Linked DNA regions of Homo sapiens: region 1 is linked to region 2. Evidence: promoter capture Hi-C in 16 types of primary human blood cells and fetal thymus (Javierre and others, 2016). All regions are on one chromosome and are shown on one strand. Each heading gives the region's core, a stretch centred on a gene start or on the middle of the fragment in contact. The rest is flanking DNA. Distances are from core to core; before and after follow the strand shown.

The links. The method cuts DNA at HindIII sites, captures the fragments that hold promoters and counts their contacts. A CHiCAGO score of 5 or more calls a contact.
Region 1: a fragment that was not itself captured here is called in contact with the fragment with the promoter of NIM1K in region 2 in 1 of 17 cell types (monocytes); the score reaches 5.6 in monocytes.

The regions. Positions count from the first base shown.
Region 1 is chr5:41,894,998-41,902,370 of GRCh38, reverse strand. It overlaps the pseudogene RPS2P22. Among named protein-coding and RNA genes, the nearest start is that of RIMOC1, 5.7 kb to the left of the region's middle. The HindIII fragment of the contact is 3,618 bases long and covers 1,818-5,435 here.
Region 2 is chr5:43,189,635-43,195,987 of GRCh38, reverse strand. NIM1K (NIM1 serine/threonine protein kinase) reads right to left here and starts at 3,763. Exons shown (of 4, transcript NM_153361.4): 1 at 3,577-3,763. RefSeq lists an enhancer at 2,738-3,447 and a silencer at 3,783-3,922. The HindIII fragment of the contact is 11,127 bases long and covers 1-6,353 here.

The DNA.
Region 1 (7,373 bases), core at 2,377-4,876, 1.3 Mb after region 2:
TATAATGGCTCATGCCTGTAATCCCAGCACTTTGGGAGATGTAGGCAGGCAGATCACCTGAGGTCAGGGGTTCAAAACCAGCCTGGCCAACATAGTGAAACCCCTTCTCTACTAAAAATACAAAAAAATTAGCCAGGCATGGTGGCACATGACTGCAGTGACAGCTGCTCAGGAGGCTGAGGCAGGAGAATTGCTTGAACCCAGGAGGTGGCCATTTCAGTGAACCGAGATCGCACCACTGCACTCCTGTCTGGGTTACAGAGAGAGACTCTGTCCCAAAACATAAATAAATAAAAATAAAAAATAAAAACATTTTAGTGGAGTGTGTTTCCAATACTTCAAAGTCTTTTTCTTGTTTTCCTTTATGTTCTCTTTCCCTAGTTAATGTCGTGGTCAAATGTAGAAACTTCATGTTTGTTAATGCATTTTATTTAGTTCAAAGTTTAAGTGAACTGTAAAATATTGAAACATAATAAAATCACCCTTACCCCCATAACTTCTTCCTTGCCATCTTTGCTCAATCTCTCCAGACTCTGCTACATTTCTTCTGGCTCTATCAGGCTAAGCCAGTCTTGTCTGTTTGAACTACCAAGGAGCACTGAGTCCTGACGTTAAGACTCTTTCATATTTACCAGGCTCCTAATAAAGTATTTCTCTCTAGCTATGAGTGTGATTCTAATTTTTAGCCCTCTATGGTAAACACCAAGCTTTGTGACAAAAATGATACAAAAGGAGACACAACAAACAAATATCATGAATATATTTGCAAAAATCCTAACTAGAATATACTCAATTTAAAAGATGGGTAGGCCGGGCGCGGTGGCTCACGCCTGTAATCCCAGCACTTTGGGAGGCCGAGGCGGGCGGATCACGAGGTCAGGAGATCGAGACCATCCCGGCTAAAACGGTGAAACCCCGTCTCTACTAAAAATACAAAAAAATTAGCCGGGCGTAGTGGCGGGCGCCTGTAGTCCCAGCTACTTGGGAGGCTGAGGCAGGAGAATGGCGTGAACCCGGGAGGCGGAGCTTGCAGTGAGCCGAGATCCCGCCACTGCACTCCAGCCTGGGTGATAGAACGAGACTCCGTCTCAAAAAAAAAAAAAAAAAAAAAAAAAAAGATGGGTAATACCCAAAATCTTAAGCACTCAGTCTCATACACTGTTGTTAGGAATATACTTTTATACAAACTACTGAAGGATGAATTATGTATTAAAGCCTTTAAAAATAACTGATCCAGTTATTTATCCTAAGACAACAGCTGGAGAAGTGTGTAAAGCTCAATAAAACAAGGAGGTTCACCACAATTTTGTTCATAATTGTGAACATTTGGAAATAACACAGATATCTGTCAGAGGAGATTGATTCAATAAGTTTTGGTATATTTATGCAGCAGGATATGCTGTAGGCATTAAAAATTATGTTTTATCTCCATATCTATTGACAGATTAAGATTATCATAATTTCTTATTAAATAAAAATAAGTATAACAGTACACAGAGTAGAGCTTTAGTTTTGGTTTATATTTTTCTTTTTGTTTTTGTTGAGACAGAGTCTCACTCTGTCACCCAAGATGGAGTGCACTGGAGTGATCTTGGCTCTGCCTCCCAGGTCCAAGTGATCCCCCCACCTCAGCTCCTAAATTGTTGAGACTACAGGTGCATGCCACAATGCCTGGCTAAGTTTTGTGTTTTTTTGTAAATATGGGGTTTCGACATGTTGCCCAGGCTGGTCTCAAACTCCTGAGCTCAAGAGTTCCACCTGCCTCAGCCTACAAAAGTGTTGGGATTACAGGTGTGAGCCACGGTGCCAGACAAGCTTGTTTTAATCTGGGTTTATGAATCCAAAATTTGAGAGAATATTAATTATGAATAATAAACTCATACAATGGGTGCACATATAGATGACTTTTAATTTTTTAATTTTCTTTTATTTTTTACAAATGCTACACTAAGCATAAGTTAAAGTAGAACTTTTCTCCCTTCCCCCATGTTTCCATATGGAGAGACCACCATGAGAGTAATTGCGGTGGTTGAATGGTGGCCTCCAAAAAGATATGTCCATGTCGTAAACCCCAGAACCTGTGGATGTGGCCTTATATAGGAAAAGGGTCTTTGCAGATGTAACTAATTTAATTATCTTGAAATAAGATCATCCTGGATTATCTAGGTGAGTCCTAAATCCAATGGCAAATATCTTTAGAAGGGACAGAAGAGAAGACACAGATATAAGATGGAGGCAATGATTAGAGTGATGCACCAAGGAATACCACAGATTGATGACAGCCACTGGCAGGTAGGGGAGGGGAATGAAGGGATACTCCCTAGAGCCACACTCAATCAGATGACCTATTTCTTCCTTGGGGAAAAATGAGAAAGAGAAGGTGATGAGGCCAACAGAGGTAGTTTCTTGTGGCTGCTGTAAGAAAAAAAAAATACCACAAACTATGTTGCTTAAAAACAACAGAAATTTATTTGCTCACAGCTCTGGCAGTAAGAAATCTGAAATCAAAGTGGCAGCTAAGTCAAAAGAATATTTGAAGAAATAATAGCATAAATGGTTTCCTAGCTATGACACCAAGAAAAAAAAAGCAGCAACAAAAGAAAACATAGATAAATTAAACTTACTAAAAATTAAGAACTTCAGTGCTTCAAAGGACACTATCAAGAAAGTAAAAAGACAACTTGCAGAATAGGAGAAAATATTTGCAAAGCATATACATGATAAGAGACTAGTATCCAGAATATGCAAGGAATTCCTACAATGAAATAGTAGAAATATAATAATCCAATTAAAAACATGCAGAGGATTTGAATAAGTAGTTCTCCATTGAAAAAAAAAAATAGCCAATTTGCACATGGAACGACGTTTAACATCATTAGGCGTTAGGGAAATGCAAATCAAGACCACAATAAGATACCACTTCATATCCACTAGGATGGCTATAATAAAAAACTCAGGTAAAAAAACACGTTGACAACAATGTGGAGAAATTGGAACTCTAATACACTGCTGGTGGGGTAAAATGGTGCAGCCATTTTGAAAAACAGCTGGAAGTTCCTCAAAACGTTAGTTATAGAGTAATCATATGACCCAGTGCAATGGGTTGAATGTTTATGTGCCCCCACTGGCCCTGAAGCAGATTCATATGTTGAAATCCTAATCCCCAAGATGATAGTGTTAAGAAGTGTGGCATTTGGAGGTGACTAGGTCACCAGGGTGGAGCCCCCATGAATAGGATTATAAAAGAGGCCTCAGAGAGATCTCTCAAACTCTCCACTATGTGAGGACACAGATAAAAGACGATTGTCTAATAAGAGGGCCCTAACCAGACATGGAATCTGCCAATGCCTTGATCTTAGGCTTTCCAGCCTCCAAAACTGTGAGAAACAAATTTCTGGGCTTTTTGTAAACCACCCAGTTTATTGTATTTTGTTATAGCAACCCAGACTCAGACATGCAGCAATTCCATTCCTAGCTATATACTGAAGAGATATTCAAATATATAGCTACACAAAAATTTTTACACAAATGTTCATGGCAGTATTATTCATAATAGCCAAAAGTTGGAAACAACCTCAATGTCAATGAACTGAGAAGCAAAATGTGATATAACCATACAATAAAATATTATTGTTATACAAATGAAGTACTGACACATGCTAGAATCTAAATATTAAATACATTATGGTATGTGAAAAAGCCATACACAAGAGACCATGTCATATGATTCCATTTATATTAGATGCCCATGATATGCAAATTCCATAGAGACAGAGAGTAGATTAATGCTTGCTCTGCGTTAAGGTAGATGGGGTATACGAAGATGATGGCTAAAGGACACAGGGTTTTTTTGAGGAGAGGGTAAGATATTCTGAAATTGTGGTGATGTCAGATGCCTCATGAGGATGTGAAAAATTAAAAAATAATAAAAAATAAAATAAAATTGTGATTGTTGCAATATATGTGAATATCCTAAAACCATTGAAATGTATACTTTAAATGAATGAGTTATATGGGATGTGAATTATATCTCAATAAAGCTGTTAAAAAATGTGTCCCATACTGGGCATCTGAAACTTCATCCATAGCAATTCCTATGCACAAATTCAAAGGTTGTAGCTCCAATATAACTGTATGTAATTCCTAAAATAATCCAGTTGTCAATAGTGGAATAACCATGTATAAATGCCAACCCATTTAAGATTAATTACTCTGAAACTAATTTGTCAAGCACAGAACAGGCATATACTTTAGACAGATATCTAGTAATTTTTTTAATGGAGGATTACTGTTTTAAAAAATAGGATATACTGCATTTGATTAGATGGGAACCTACTGGCAGCAAGGAAAAAAGTTAAATTGAAAAAGTTGATAGGGGACACATTATAGAGCCGATGTGATGCCATGATAAAGAGTTTGTACTCTCAGCTGTAGACAGTGGAGAGACTGGAATGGCTTTCAGTAGGATAATGACAAGGTTAGATGTCTGAAAGATACACTGGTGGTAAGGAAGATGAACTAGTAGGTTTAAGTCTAAAGAGAGGGAGACCAGTGGGGAGGCTTTTAAAGTAATCCGGGAGAGAGAGGATGATGGCCTAAACAAGGATAGTATCAGCATAGGAGGGCAAGAGGGACATGATAAAATAAATATTATTAAGAGGTAAAATCAGTAGGAATTGGCCATTAATTTAGCACAAAGTTAAAGCCCAAGAACACTGCTTTGTGCCTATTAACAAGAAAACTCCATCACCTACTTTCTAAATTCTTAATCTGTTGAAGTCAAAGTTCTCTCCATTCCATTGCACAATGTTGATCATATTAACTTTGGAGATTTAAAGACAGCATTAATGTAGTTTGGCCATGCACAACATTTATAAATTTTAGTTTGTATCTTCAATTAATTGATAAAAATAAAGAGGTCATGTAATACAATATCAGAGAACTGCCTGAATTAAATACTCTTTCTTGTATTCAAACTAGAAAGTTTCCTCCTTTTACTTTATTGGCTTTAATAATATAATTGTCTCCGGCTTAAAACAATTTATGAATGGGCATGGTGGCTTCTGCCTGTAATCCCAGCATTTTGGCAGGACGAGGTGAGATAATTGCTCGAGCCCTAGAGTTCTAGACCAGCCTGGGCAACATAGCAAGAATTTGTCAAAACAGAAAATTAAAAAATTAGCCAGTGTGGTGGCACATGCCTGTAGACCTAGCTACCTGGGAAGCTAAGGTGGTAGGATTGCTTGATCCCAGAAGTTTGAGGCTGCAGTGAGCTAAGATGGTACCACTGCACCTTAGCCTACACATAGAGTGAGACCTTGTCTCAAAAACAACAACAGCAACAAAAAACACAACTTATGCCCAGGTTAAATCCTTTGAAGTCTGTCAATTATAAGCATATTTCTTAGCCCTACAGCCTTCATACAGTGGAAGCTTTACAGTCTCCAACCTGCTTTCATGCCTTCATCTCCTTACTATCCTGAACTCCCTCTCCCAAGATTCTTTCCAACAACCACCCTCCTCCCACCTTTCACTCTACTTCCTGTAACTTTTGCTCCAACATTACAAGATGCCTCCATATTTTCAAAATTAGATGGAAATTTGGTCCAGCGAACACCTATTAATCCATGCTTTATCGGCTATGAGGTCAAGCTCCCTGACTACACTTCTGGATTCCTTGCTCATATCCAGTAAAGCCAGTGAATCTGGGGTTAAATTATTTATCTTTACCCTAAATCCTGCCATAATCCTAAGACAGTCCAATGTCCTTGTAGCCAGCAAGCCATGCTGTGGATCTCAGAAATCTTAAACTCTAGAGCCCAATCTCTGACTGCATCTTCTCTCATGATCTCATACCATAAGAGATCTTTCATCTAGAAAACCTTTTGGCAACATTTTCTCCCAATCTTTTTAACTCCCTTCTGGCCTCTGTTCCCTCTTTTTGTAGCTTGAGTCACATGATTGATCACTTAAGCCAAAACCCTCAGTTCCTTATCTTTTCAGCACTCTCAGTTCCATATCCTTTTAACCCGTAAAATCCAGCAAATCTTCAATCAATGTTTCTTTGCCCTGCCATTCAGGTGGTGAACTCTGCGGCACAACAGCCTCATTTGCACATAGATTGCTGCCACTGTAAATTGAGCTGGATCATTGATGCTGCCTAACAGTTCTCTTACTTGTCCCTAGTCAGTTTCTTCTGGTGCATTCTCCTCAGATAGTAAACTCCTTGAGGGTAGAGTGAATACCTCATGCATGGTTGCATCTCTTGCACACACCACTGACTTGCCTATAGTGAACACTTAAATATTTGTCAAATTATTAAATGCTAATGAGTTAATTCATTAACATTTATATTAAATGAGTGAGTCTACCTTAAAAATCTTCAAATCTCTCCAATCTCTTGACCCTGAATTTCTCTCTGGCTCCTTTCTATTCTCTATGTAAGTCCCAACATCCAAACACTACAGAAGTACAGTCTGCACTGTCTCCTGTCTTTGATTATTATTGATAATATTCCCATCTCAAGATCCTTAACTTAATAACATTTGCAAAGTTCCTTTCGTCATACAAAGTAACATTCAAAGGTCTTAAGTATTAGGATCTGGATATCTTAACCTATATACTCCAGAAAAAATAAAGCACTACCAGCAATTTTTAATGGCTTAATTAAATCACCTTATTTTTCTTGTATAAAGACATTAGTGTGGTGGTCACAGCCAGAGCCTGAATCCTCTGCATGGACACTCTGGTGTGGGTCAGTGAATTCTTGTTAAGCAGACAGAGGCTTCCCAGAGATTGGAGTGAGATAACTATAGGTCTTGTAGATGGCATCAAAGGTGGCTTTGGTGAAGTTGCCCAGGGTGGTATTGCAATCCCGTGGCTAAAATGTAGTAGTTGAGGATACCGGCCATTATTAGCAGCTTCTTTGGTGGCAGGGGTGAGGAGTACCAGCACAGAGTTACAGCTGCCTATTACCTTTCAAGGGACAATGTGGAGTTTGCCAATCTTGTTCCTCCAGTAGCTTCACTGCATGGGACTTACAGAGAGCTGTGCAAGGATGACGGTCTCATTGATGGCAGTGGCTACTTCCTTGGAGCACTTCACACACAGATGATATGTTGCTTATAGTCCAAGATAGTGAAAAATGCATTGTTCCTGGTCAGCTGGACAGCATGAATCTGCTTTTGCAGGGGTGTAATCTTTAAAACCTTGTCTTTGAGGAATATTCCCAGGAAATAGTAGATGATCTCAGACTACTGAATGGGTAGGGAAAACAGAAAGATCTCCCTTGTGGACTTGATCCAGGTGGCACAGCTTGGTGATAGGAAGGCATCCCTTGTCTTTAATTCCTTCACAAGATCTGAGACTTGGAC
Region 2 (6,353 bases), core at 2,514-5,013:
CCATCAGTGTTCTCTGTGGAAGATGAAGAGTGGAGTTCTTCTTAGTTTCCTATTCTGCAACTTCGTTTTCCTTCTGTGCAACCCTCTTTTCACTTGATGTTTTCGCTTTTACTTTCTTTCTATTAATCTGCTTTCTCCTTACAGTTTTTTCCCCTTAACAGTTTTATTTTGCTCTCTAATCTTAAATTCTTCCCGCTATCCATGCCCTGAATTTCTCTTAAGTCTTGGCTAATGCTCATATTCATAATGCTCATGTCAGACAATTTAGATTTTTGTCTCGATTTTCCAAGTGGTTAGCTGAAATCACTTTTTTTTTTTTTTTTTTTGGATTCAGAGTCTTTCTGTGTCTCCCAGGATGGAATGCAGTGGCATAATCACAGCTCACTGCAGCCTTGAACCTCCCAGGCTCAAGCAATCCTCCTCCCTCAGTCTCCCCAGTAGCTGGGACTACAGGCATGCACCACCACACCCAGCTAATTTTTAAAAAATTTTTATAGAGACAAGGTCTCACCATGTTGCCCAGGCTGGTCTCGAACTCCTGGGCTCAAGCAGTCCTTCTGCTTCAGCCTCCCAAAGTATTGGGATTACAGGCCTGAGCCACGGCACCGACCTATCACTTGGCTTTTGAACACAACTTGTCCATCTGTAAAACTGATTAATATTCCTCAGGATGCTGTATAATAATGGCTAAGCTAACCTTGAAGTTCTTGAGAGAAAGTAATTTAAGAACTATGATGTGGTTAATTCAAGTTGTAGACTATTATCTTCATAAGCAATTTGAATATTTTCTTCTTCTCCTGAAAATTAAAACTTCAATTCTAGAGACCTTTTTCTAGAATGACAATAGGAAATGACAAAATACAAAATGAAACAAATTTTATGAACAGTTTGTCCTTTCAACAAGTGAAAGAAAATCAACCAATGAATTAAAACTCTTTAATCCCTAGAGAAATACAGTGATCAGATTCAAAGAATGAAGTTGGATTTAATGTTATATTTTAATTTTTAAGTTTCTCAAAATGAAACTATATATGTGACAAAAACATTAACCTACTAAGACAAAAATCTTTGCTTTTGTTTTTTTAAAAATGTATGATAAGTCTGTCATGCACCTGTAGTCCCAGCTCCTCAGGAGGCTGAGGCAGGAAGATCCCTTGAGCCCAGGAGTTTGAGACATGCCTGGGCAACATGGCGAGACCCAGTCTCTAAAAACGAAAAGAAAATAAAACAAAACTGTAAGTCTGAGGGCTTCAAGCTGTCTAATCACATGCTATCAATGTTAGAATTTGAAGCTCAGAAATCGTGGATGTGTAATGAATTACGGTTCTTTAAAGAAACCAACATTTGCTGATAAAAGTATTTGAAATGGTACCACTGCTTGCCCCAAATTAAACCTTTTCAACTAAAAACCTAGGGTTAAACCAAGAATATAAAGGGCTCTATAACCTATCTGTAGTTATTACTGGGGAATTCAGATTTCATATAAACCTGTCTTTATTTTAAATGTAGTTAGAAAAAAAGCACACACCTCAAACCAAATATCCAATCCACATTTTTTCCTAACACAGAAGGAGGCTTCTCTGAAGGTTTTTCCAGGCTTACCATTTAACAGTGGTCCAGCTAAAAATAAACCCATGAGGGTTTACTAGGCAAATTCAATGGCACACCAAACACCAGTCCATGGGGAGTTGGATTCAGCTTTTTCCCCACTAGCCTCTCGCAGGAATCCCCCCCTACATTCTCCCATCTCCTAATTAGAAAGCTAATTAGGCTTCCAAATGTAAATGCTAAATGGCGAGGGCGATCTGGGCTCAGGCCAGGATTCGTGGAACATCTAACACCCTCCTCTGTCCTCTGTTCGTGCAGTGAGCTGTGGGAAGAGAGCTGGGCAGCATGACTATTTGGGGCCATTTAACTTGCTGGAGGGCAGTGTTTACTCTCATTTGTCTGAGCGGAAAGCTGTGTTGCATGGACTGCAAACTCTGAAAAAATAAAATAAAAAAAACAACAACATGCCTTGGGATTTTAGTACTTTAAGGGAAAAAGTAAGTACATTTTCATAAACTCAATTATTACCATGGTGACAACGAGGGTACAAGAGAAGGTCCTCTGGAGAACAGTTCCTGCTTCTAACTAGACAGCCTCTCAATAGAGCAGGGCGACTTCTTCAGTAACCATGACAACCAGAATTAGAAGTGCTGTTGCAACACTAACAGAAACCATCTTTTGAAGCGGTTCTGTGAATCACATTGAATACTGATGATGCAAGCTAGTGTGATACATACTTTTCAAACATTAAAAAAAATCTTATTACCATAAACAAATATTCACCTTAGATTTCCATTTGAAATCTTGACTTGGAATCACTTTTTTTCATCTGGTTTCGTTTGTTTCCCTTTTGGATTCCCGCGGCCTCAATTGCAAACGCGATTTGTGTAATTTCCAAACTTGTCAGAACTGCACGGGTAAGAGCTTAGAATGTGATTCATTCGCTCTTATTTTGAAACGGGATGAGGAATGGGGTGGGGGAGGGGGGGTAGACAGAGAGCCCTCTTGTCTACTGTACTCAGGAGGACGAAAACAGGGGAGGGAAGGGGAAAAGAGAGGAGAAAGGGAGAAAGGGAGGGAGGGAGGAGGAGAAGAGAAGGGGAGAGGAGGAGGAGGAAAGGAGGGAGGGAGAAGAGGGAAAAGGAGGGAAGGAGGGAAGGAAAAAACAGAAAGGAAAGAAGTGCTATAGCAGAATCTTTGCTGCCCATGTTATCTATTGCCTTGACTTCTCCATCTGCCAAGATGTGTCAAGCACGCAGAAGCTGGCTGGAATCGATATTTTAAAGACCCGGTTGCGATCTTTTCCTGGTCGTATCAAGGAGTCCTGGAGCTTCTAATATTCCTGGAGGGATATCCAGGAAGAGGAAAAGAGGCTCTTCCTTACTTCGTGCGGTCTTCCAAAAGAAGCACCTTTCGCTGGGGAGAGTCGCGGCGTGGGGTGCAATGGAAGGTTTTGTTCTCCTGGGCCACATGCGTTAGATGTCAGTTCTCTCCACCAGCAGCACCGGCCGGCGCGCGTGGGGAGATCACGCCGGTCTTCTGCCCTTGTAACAAACGCTCCAGATTTGGTCTGGTGCCTTAGGGCTCTGGTCCAGCGCACCCGCTGTGCGCAACGCTAGGCGCTAAGCTGCGCTCCTCGGCTCACGTGTGGACGCGCACGCAGACACGAGTGTCCACACCATACAGAGACATGGGTGCACACACGCGCGCACATAGACATGGGCGCCGCACATGACACGGGCACCACACATGACACGGGCACACACGCGCGAGCACGCTCTCGCCCTGGCTCTAATGCCCCCTCCTCTCGCTTGCGGATCGGCCTGGGCAGGTGTGGGGGTACGCCCCAGAAAGCGCCTAACCTTCTTCTGACCCCACTTCGCAGACACCCCGTGGCAGGGCTTCCTTTCTTCCTTGGGTCGCGGGGAGGAGAGGCGCCTCCTCCTCAGCCACCCAGGTCTGCAGCCTAGCAGAGGAAGGGTGGCGGGGTGGGGGTGCTGGCGGCGAGTCCCCCAGCCCCTCGCTTACCTTCGTGGCGAGGCCAGCTCTTGGGCTTCGCTGCACGGCGCCAGGCTAGGCGCGCTGGGTTGTTGCCTCTGGAGCAGGAGCGGTCGGTGTGTGGATGTCCCGAGGTGAGGGCGCCGCTGTCGCGCTTGAGGCTCCCGGAGCTGTCAGGGGCGGCCGACCTGACCGGCAGCGGCCCAGGGCAAACCCCGCCCTCCGGCCTAGGCCGGCTCCGCAGCGGGGACCGAGACGCCCCACAGCGTTTCCTGAAGGACCAATCCGGAGCGAGGGGCTGGCGTGGGGAAGGAGGGACGGGGGGCCTGTAGTGCACCCGGACGCCGGCCTGGACCTTGTAAGCTGGTTTCTATGGCAGCCAGGAGGGAGGGGCGAGAGGGAGGGGACGCGCGGCGCAGGGACACCCAGTGCAGTCGCTCGGGGAGGGGGGTGATTGGGCCTGACGCAAAGAGGACCCCTTCTAGAGTCTGGATGGGAGCAGCTACACGGCCGAAAGCGGGCTGACACAGCTCCCACCGACGTACGCCTCGTGCCGAGCGGTTCCAGCGCTTCAGCAAGGGTTTCCATGTCCTTGGGAAACCGTGACCCAGTAATCCTCCCAACAGAAAGGGGGTTTCCAGCAAACCACCGTGACAGCTCCTCCGGGTGAGTCGGGCAGGGTTTAGGTTCTGCAGAAAGAAGTGCTAATGTCACCCTCTGTCTGGATTCCTGGCATACATCGGTTCCCCTGGTGCCACTTTGTCACTGGCTCCCTAATCTCCTGCTAGGGAGATACTCTCGGCTGTGACCCTCAGATGCCAAAGATTATTTTTCTAGTTTATAAACTAGAAATACCGTCACTGGATTGAACGTAGAGTTGGAAATGGGATTCGCAAAATACTAAATAAAACATACCGGTTATTTACTGAAGTTTAAGCCCTTCCTTTTACAGAGAGAGAAAAAAAAAACTGAGTTCAGAGGGGTCAGTTAACTTAGCAAGGGTCACACAACTGATTAATGGCAGAGCCAGGACTAGACACCCTAAGTCATAGTTCTGCGAGCATTCTTTCTACTTCCTCCTGCTCTCCATCCTGTATTGATTGCCAGAGCAATATTTACAAGAGCAAAACTGTTAAGTAGCAACATAACCCATGTCTACAATTCTTTTATGGTAGAAACTAGGGAACCCCAAAATTCCTTTTTTGCTATTTGCCAGGCATTGTAATAAACTCTTTTACAAAGAGTAACTGATTAAATCCTCATGATAATCTATGGGTTAGGTACTGTTACTGTCATCCTTGTTTTGATAGATGAAGAAACTGAAGCCCAGAGAGGTTACAGGATTTGATCGAGATCACACAACTGTTGAATGCTGGCTCTGGGACTCTAACCCAGTTTGTTTGACTCCAGAGTTGGTGTTCTTCATTACTTTGTCTCTGCTGCCTGTTTGTGTGATGATTAAAGGGGTCAGGAACGGGAAGGGCAAGAAATAAAAACCTTGGACAGCTCCGTGCACTGACGGTTGAGATTGGAAAGAAAATTGAAAGAACCTGAAACAACTGCTTCCTTGGCTTCTGAGAGTGGTCATCTATTTATGTAGAACAAGGGTTCTCTCGAGAAAATTTGTTTTTAAAGAGACATCCCCTCCTCAAAAGACAAGAGGTTTGTTGTTTTTTTTTTTTAAGAGTAATCTTTAAAATAGTACATGCCATCAGTCTATTTTCTTTCTAATGCAATAAAATGCAGGGAGAAACTCTACATATTTTTAAAGATATAAAAGACCCTTGAATTCAAATAAACAGAATAAAATTTCATAGAGAAATTGCCTAGAAACCAAGAGCCTCAAACACCCAATCTGACAGAGGCTCTCTGTGACATAGATCCTCACCATCACACCCCAAAGAGCATGCACAAGGCAGAGGTGATGATAGGTTCTAGTAGCTTAAAAGGTTACTGAACACTTTAGGCTAATACCATCACATTGGGAGTTAAGATTTCAATATATGAATTGGGAGATACAAAAATTTAGTCCATAACAGAACCCTTCCCAACTTTTATCTTTCTTTCAGGAATCTCTATTTTATACTATGTGTGTCAGACCTTCTCATTCTATTTCATGTCTTTTCTCAGATTCTCTAGATTTTTAACATTTTGTGCTACATTCTAGGTAATTTCTTCAGATCTACCTTCTGTTCATGAATTTTCTCTTGCACTAACCTGCACACTGACTTTATGATAATGCAAATATAATTAAATCAAGAGGTTTGAGAGTGCCGATTTCAGTATCTTTCACAGCAGGGGTGAATTGATAGCTTAAAATTGAATCACTTATTTACAACAACTAGTATTATTAAAATCCCTTTTTTCTTAACTTTATAGGAAACTTGTAAGAACTAATATTTCTTGTAAAAAACCTTTTTCTGAGGTTTAGCAATTTTTTCTGCTTTCCTTCTTATTTCCGTTAAATCCAATAAAAATTAAACTGAAAGGCCGGGCACGGTGGCTCACGCCTGTAATCCCAGCACTTTGGGAGGCCGAGGCGGGTGGATCACGAGGTCAGGAGATGGAGACCATCCGGGCTAACACGGTGAAACCCCGTCTCTACTAAAAATACAAAAAAAATTAGCCGGGCGTGGTGGCAGGTGCCTGTAGTCCAGCAACTCGGGAGGCTGAGGCAGGAGAATGGCGTGAACCCGGGAGGCGGAGCTTGCAGTGAGCCGAGATCGCGCCACTGCACTCCAGCCTGGGAGGCAGAGCGAGACTCTGTCTCCAAAAAAAAAAAAAAAAAAAAAAAAAAAAAAAAATTA